2 separate regions of the Homo sapiens genome follow, and region 2 is linked to region 1. Evidence: promoter capture Hi-C in 16 types of primary human blood cells and fetal thymus (Javierre and others, 2016). All regions are on one chromosome and are shown on one strand. Each heading gives the region's core, a stretch centred on a gene start or on the middle of the fragment in contact. The rest is flanking DNA. Distances are from core to core; before and after follow the strand shown. Region 1 holds the start of ALPK2 (alpha kinase 2). Region 2 holds the start of NEDD4L (NEDD4 like E3 ubiquitin protein ligase).

Region 1 (2,700 bases), core at 61-2,560:
TTGCTTTGGGACATTCCTTCACTTTTGACTTTATTCTCTCTGTGGTGTGCGACAGCATTTGTTTATTCTTTATCATCACACTTTCCTCCTCTCTTCATTCCCAACTTGAAGTTATCTCCTCTTTCTTATCTGGAAAAGACCTTACATTGTGAAGACCTCAGCTTTCCATAAAGCCGACCATTTGCAAAGAGTTGGTAATTTCTGTGTTCTGTGGCATTTCACAGATGTGTTCCCCAGGAGATAGTCATTATTTTACAGTGCCTCAGCTTTAATATCTTTTTTCTCACATGAAGATAAAACTGAAAAACAGAACATATCACCCCTACATTTCTTAATATTTTATCGTTTTAGATGAGTTTTCATCTTGTGAAAAGTTGCATTCCATCAAGGGATAATGATGTACATTCTGTGCTGTGTAAAAACAATTTGCTTTTGAGGATTGCAGTGCCCTACACAGAGTGAATATTTACAGCTATGTCCCTTTCAAAGTCACCCCTGGAGCTGCTAATTTGAGCTGTCTCCACGAGTCTCAAAAGAGGTTTCTGTCTAAGCTGTCAATTTCCAGGTGTCATACATTAAAATATTTTTGGGGAGAGGCTAAGTAGTTACAGAATGATGCTAAAGGATTCTCTATGTTTTTGGACTTGGATAAACTTCAATAAAAGAATTGCCCATATTACAAAATCTACTTTCCCAACAAGAACCATTCCAGGCAATCTGAAGGAATAGGACCTGTGGTATTTCTTCTGTGGATTTCTTCTGATCTTTGTCTGTTCTCTTCTATCGTAGTCAAAATAGGAAGGGGTGTGTGTGTGTGTGTGTGTGTGTGTGTGTGTGAGAGAGAGAGAGAGAGAGACAGACAGACAGACAAGGGGTAAGGGGGGGTAAGCAGGGTGAGGAGGGTGGATCCTGCCTTCCTTCTGTGGCTTCTGCCTTTCTCAGAGAACTTCAGAGGATGGCTATAATGCCTGTTCTAAATGAACAACATATGACACATATTTTCACCTCCCCAACACCCCCTCCACGGGTTTCCTATGTGTACTTCAAATGCCTGATAACCTTGGTATGAGAACTGGTTGTGTTACTCCGGCCTTAATCCCTTTATCAGGCAGCAAGTTTTTCCTTTCCTAAGGAGCGAGCAACTAAGCCCAGGGTCCAGCATGGGCTTTGTAAAGAGCTGCTCGGTCTCCTGAGCAGCAGCCAGTGACAGCTCGTCTGGGTTTCATCAGCTCCCTGGGGCTGCATTTCACCAGGCCCCCTTGCCAGGGCCTCCCCAGCGTGTCGTGTCAACAAGTGTCGCACCTACTGCAGAAACAGCCCTCAAGTTTCATCACAGGGATGCTAAAATATATTCTCCAGCTTCAGCAATGACCTAGTTCACTGAAGGGCGGGGAAAAAATGCTCTTCTTCCAGAACTTCCCCGGGCATGGAATTTCCCCTCTTAGGAAGAGATGAACTTTCTGGAAGCAGACCCATCTATGCTTTGACCTGATCATGGAAGACCCTGAGCCCTATAAACTCCTTTGAATCCCTGTCCCGGGAACAGGGACACCCAATCAATGCCTCACACACAGCCTGGGGAATCCACAGCTGAGCCAGCCCTCCTACAACATTTCTTGGACAAAGAGTACTGAAAAGTAAGTATGTAGACTTTGGTTTTTACATAAGGAATGGCTGTGCTTTCAATATATAGTTGTTTACATTTTCTGCAACAAAGAACAAAGCAGATGGTTTCCTGATGAAATAGAATGAGATGAAACCAATAGGGATTATATGGGATATTTGGGCATATAAGGTTTTAAAGTGGGCAAACTCTCATGGTCTTGTAATTTAAGTCCATTTTGACCCTTTTTGAAAATTATTGCTATTTTTAAATTTGCTTATTTTGGCTTGACAATAATGAATGAAAACAGTTTCTTTCACATCATGTCTATCTTAACAGTTAGAAAAAATATACAGAATGACTCAAACGAGTGATATGTAAAGTTTTGCAAAGCAACATAAAAAGTCAACTATCCAGGTAACTCAGGCCCCAGAGACTTTTGTCTGAAATATTTGAGTATTTTAGTCAAGAGTTATTCCTTTTACTGTGAATTAACTGAATGATTGAAAATCTCTCCTATCTGGGTAGACACAGGAGTATATTGTCTGACAACAGGTAATGCAATTTGCTGAAAAGCTATCAGGCTTTTCAAAATGGCTGATGTAAACATTTATCGAGTTGTTAAATAGATTTAAAAAAAAATTTAAGGCAAAAAGTCAGCCAAAAAAAAATCCATCAATTAAATGCCACCACTGTCACATTACAATTTAATGAACACATCTAAACTTTAAAAGCCTTGATTAAGGGTGTCAGTTACAGACATTTGGCAATCATTTAAAAATAGATAAAAGCAAGAACGGCATTTAGAGCTGCTTCTGCTCTAATTATTTTCTTTCCACAACCTTTTCCTTAAGTAAAGGTAGCCTTTATTTCTAAAGATTAATTAACCAGGAATGGTCATTCCAGAGATATGTGATATGTTTTATAACTCTATATCAACTAAGGACAAATTGAAGGGGTTTTTTGCTGTGTGGCTTCTGAATTGAAACCAAGGATGTTGTGGGTTACCTTCCGAATCAACAACTTCACAAATCCTGTATTAAAAAGCATGGATGGCCAATAACCATGTTCAGATCTTGGAAATCAGGACTTAAAAC
Region 2 (2,830 bases), core at 55-2,554, 580 kb after region 1:
AAGAGAGAATGAAGGTAAAAACAAAGCCCTTTCCAGTGAAACCGACCGCCTGGGAGGCGTGGCTTATTCAGTCGCTTTATTAATAAAAGAGATCAATTAAGCTTTCCTCTCCCCACCCACCCTGGAGGTGCCGGGCTTTGAATCCTCGGGAGGAAAAAATGGCAGGGCTGCAAGCTTCCTCCCCAAGTTTCCAGGAGCACCTGCCACCAGCCTTGAACACCTCCCCCACCGAGGCTCCGAAATCCACAATCCTGGCCGTAGACTTTGCAAAACGAGGGGAGGGACACACGCAGCGTGTCCCCCATTCCCGCCGGGATAAGCACGCACAGGCTTCTGAGCGCCTGCTGATCCACACAATCATGAGAGAGAAAGTTCCAGGGGGAAACGATCCGGCTTCTCCGCAGTCCCGGGTCTCCAGCCGCGCGACCCAGACGTGACATGCATCATGGACTCCCGGGCTGCAGGGGCGAGAGGCGGAAAGTTGCCCAACAGCCCCGGGAGACGCTGCTTGGAGAGGAAGAGGGAAGAGAGGCACGCATGCCCCCTCCCTCTCCTCCCGAAAGCGAGGAGCTGCGGAGTGAACCCCCAGCTCCAAGGGCGTCGCGCCGCTTTATTTACAAACAATGAGCTCGGCTTGCGGAGGGTGGGGGGTGCGGAAGGACCCAAGCTCCCCTGGATCCCGCTCCGGGGCGCTCCCGCTTTGGGGCTCCCCTGCAGACGCTGGGCACGAGCACCCCGGGGACGGCCCCTTTCCCCTCCCCCTGCCGGCGCGGGATAGGAACTCCCCGGGGAGTCCCGAGCAGGAAGGGGGTGCCACTCACCTCGTCTTCGGAAAGTCCATAGACCGGCTCCCCGAGCCCGGTCGCCATGGAGCCGGCGCCCCGCGCGGGGTCTGAGGCGCTCCCAGCGGCTGTGCTGCGGCGCGGACGGCCGGTTCTCCCCTCTGCCTCCAGGTCCCCCCGGTCCCGCACCCTACCCTGCGCACGCCCTGCCGGGTAAGCGGCCGGGCGCCGGCAGGTGAGGGTGCCCGAGAGCGCGCCCTGGACGCTGCCGGCACCGCTTCCTCCCGGAAGGCTGCGGGACCAGCGGGCGGGCGGCTCCCGAGAGCGCGCCGAGCACCGGGCGGCAGCCCCGGCGCCTCTCACTGCGCGCGGCGGCGGCGCAGACCCGGCCGGGCTTTCCCTCCCCGCGACCCGCGCCTCCCTCCCGCCCCGCCGCTCTCCGCCCCCCTCCGAGCCTCCTCTGCGCTCCCGGGGACCCGGCTCGCCCGCCTCCTCGCTAGCGCCGTCCGGGCCCCCGCTCTCTCCGCCCCCTCCTCCGCCTCCTCCCACCGGCGCCGCGAGGGTACCCTCCCCGTTCGCCGGGGCGGGCACACGCGCCCCCCAAGCCAATCACAGGCCGGGCTGGCGAGCGGGCCGCGGGCTGCGGGGGTGGCGGAGTTCAGCCCCACGCCCACCCCGGCCCGGGGCCTCCAGCGCGGCGCGGCGGGGGTCACCCGGCCGCGGGGCGGATCCGCAGGGGCGTGTACTGGCGCGCTTGGCCGGCGCCGCCGACCCTCCCTCCTCTCCCGGTTTCCCTCCGCTTTAGGGAGGGGGCGGGCTGGACGTTTGGGGGCGATAGAGGATTTTGCGAACAATAACAAAAACGCCCTGAGCGTTTCTTCCTCCCGGTGGTCTTTTTACCGAGAGCCCTGAGCTCGCTGTTAACTGTGAAAAGGGGAAAAGATGGATGTTTCTAGACCCCTTTAAATTCTTTGCGGCCCCGACGAGCAGGACTTGGCTACATTGTCAGCTCCCGGGAGCGAGCCGCCCGGCCCGGCTGCCAGCCGAGGAGAGGCTGCCCCAGTGTGGCCGCAAGTCGCCATTGCCTGTGTCAACCTTGCAGGGAACAAAACCAACATAGCGCCCGCCCCGGTTACACACCCACCCACGCGAAAACAGACAGCATGGTTCTTTGAATAAAAAGCAGTTCATTTGTGAGCCGCAACGTGAAATATCAAACTCAAGCTTAAGGTTATCCTTTGCATATGCAAATGATCGAGACGTCTTATTAGCCACCGTAGGATTCTTCCCACCACCCAGCTACCGTTTCTCTAGCAAGCAGTTCATTTAATCCTTCCGATTTATAGGACTGCAAGAGACTACTTTAAATAAGTGAAAGAAATTCGTCAGTCGACTTTTTCGGAAGCCTTTCCTTAAATTTAGATGTTAAGTGCAGTTGGGAGTTCAAAAAGAAAACAGACGCAGAACATTCCATTTGCCTTTGAAAAGGAAACGTCAAAGTGCCTACTTGGGTATTACCAGGATGCATTTAGGATTTTCATTCAAGGAAGTTCAGAGAGAACTCGCGTGACCCGAAGGAATCATATTCCTCGTTGCCAGCTACATAACTAAATATCTGCTGTTCGCCCTGCTAGTTCGTTTTCAAAAGAGCCCACCCATGCTACCTTAAGCTCTCCTTTGCCTTCCTGCAGCATGACTGGCTTAAAACCTGTGCCGTAGAATGGGTTTCCTTTGACGACTTAGCCCCATGGAGTCAACATCCTACTCAGAAGCCTTCTCTAGAAGTCTTGAGCCGTCAAGTCCACAGTACTTACAGGCCACAAAACCCCCAATGAGAACTATTTATGGAGGACTATTTAAAAGTCAGATTTCTGTCCATTCTTTCAATACTGAGGTTTTTCAACCCTTTCAAACCTCGAGTCTTTAGACCGGGCACGGTGGCTCAAACCTGTAATCCCAGCACTTTGGGAGGCTGAGGCGGGCGGATCATAAGATCGGTAGTTCAAGACCAGCTGGCCAATGTGGTGAAACTCCATCTCTACTAAAAA

The links. The method cuts DNA at HindIII sites, captures the fragments that hold promoters and counts their contacts. A CHiCAGO score of 5 or more calls a contact.
Region 2: a contact is called between the fragment with the promoter of NEDD4L here and the fragment with the promoter of ALPK2 in region 1, in 5 of 17 cell types (total B cells, naive CD8 T cells, activated CD4 T cells and 2 more). The highest score is 7.3, in total B cells.

What each region holds. Positions count from the first base shown.
Region 1 is chr18:58,627,701-58,630,400 of GRCh38, reverse strand. It overlaps ALPK2 (alpha kinase 2), which reads left to right and starts at 1,310. Exons shown (of 13, transcript NM_052947.4): 1 at 1,310-1,637. RefSeq lists an enhancer at 751-1,293. The HindIII fragment of the contact is 8,777 bases long and covers 1-2,700 here.
Region 2 is chr18:58,042,700-58,045,529 of GRCh38, reverse strand. It overlaps NEDD4L (NEDD4 like E3 ubiquitin protein ligase), which reads right to left and starts at 1,304. Exons shown (of 31, transcript NM_001144967.3): 1 at 822-1,304. The coding sequence starts at 869. RefSeq lists silencers at 670-1,219, 1,240-1,609. The HindIII fragment of the contact is 1,832 bases long and covers 177-2,008 here.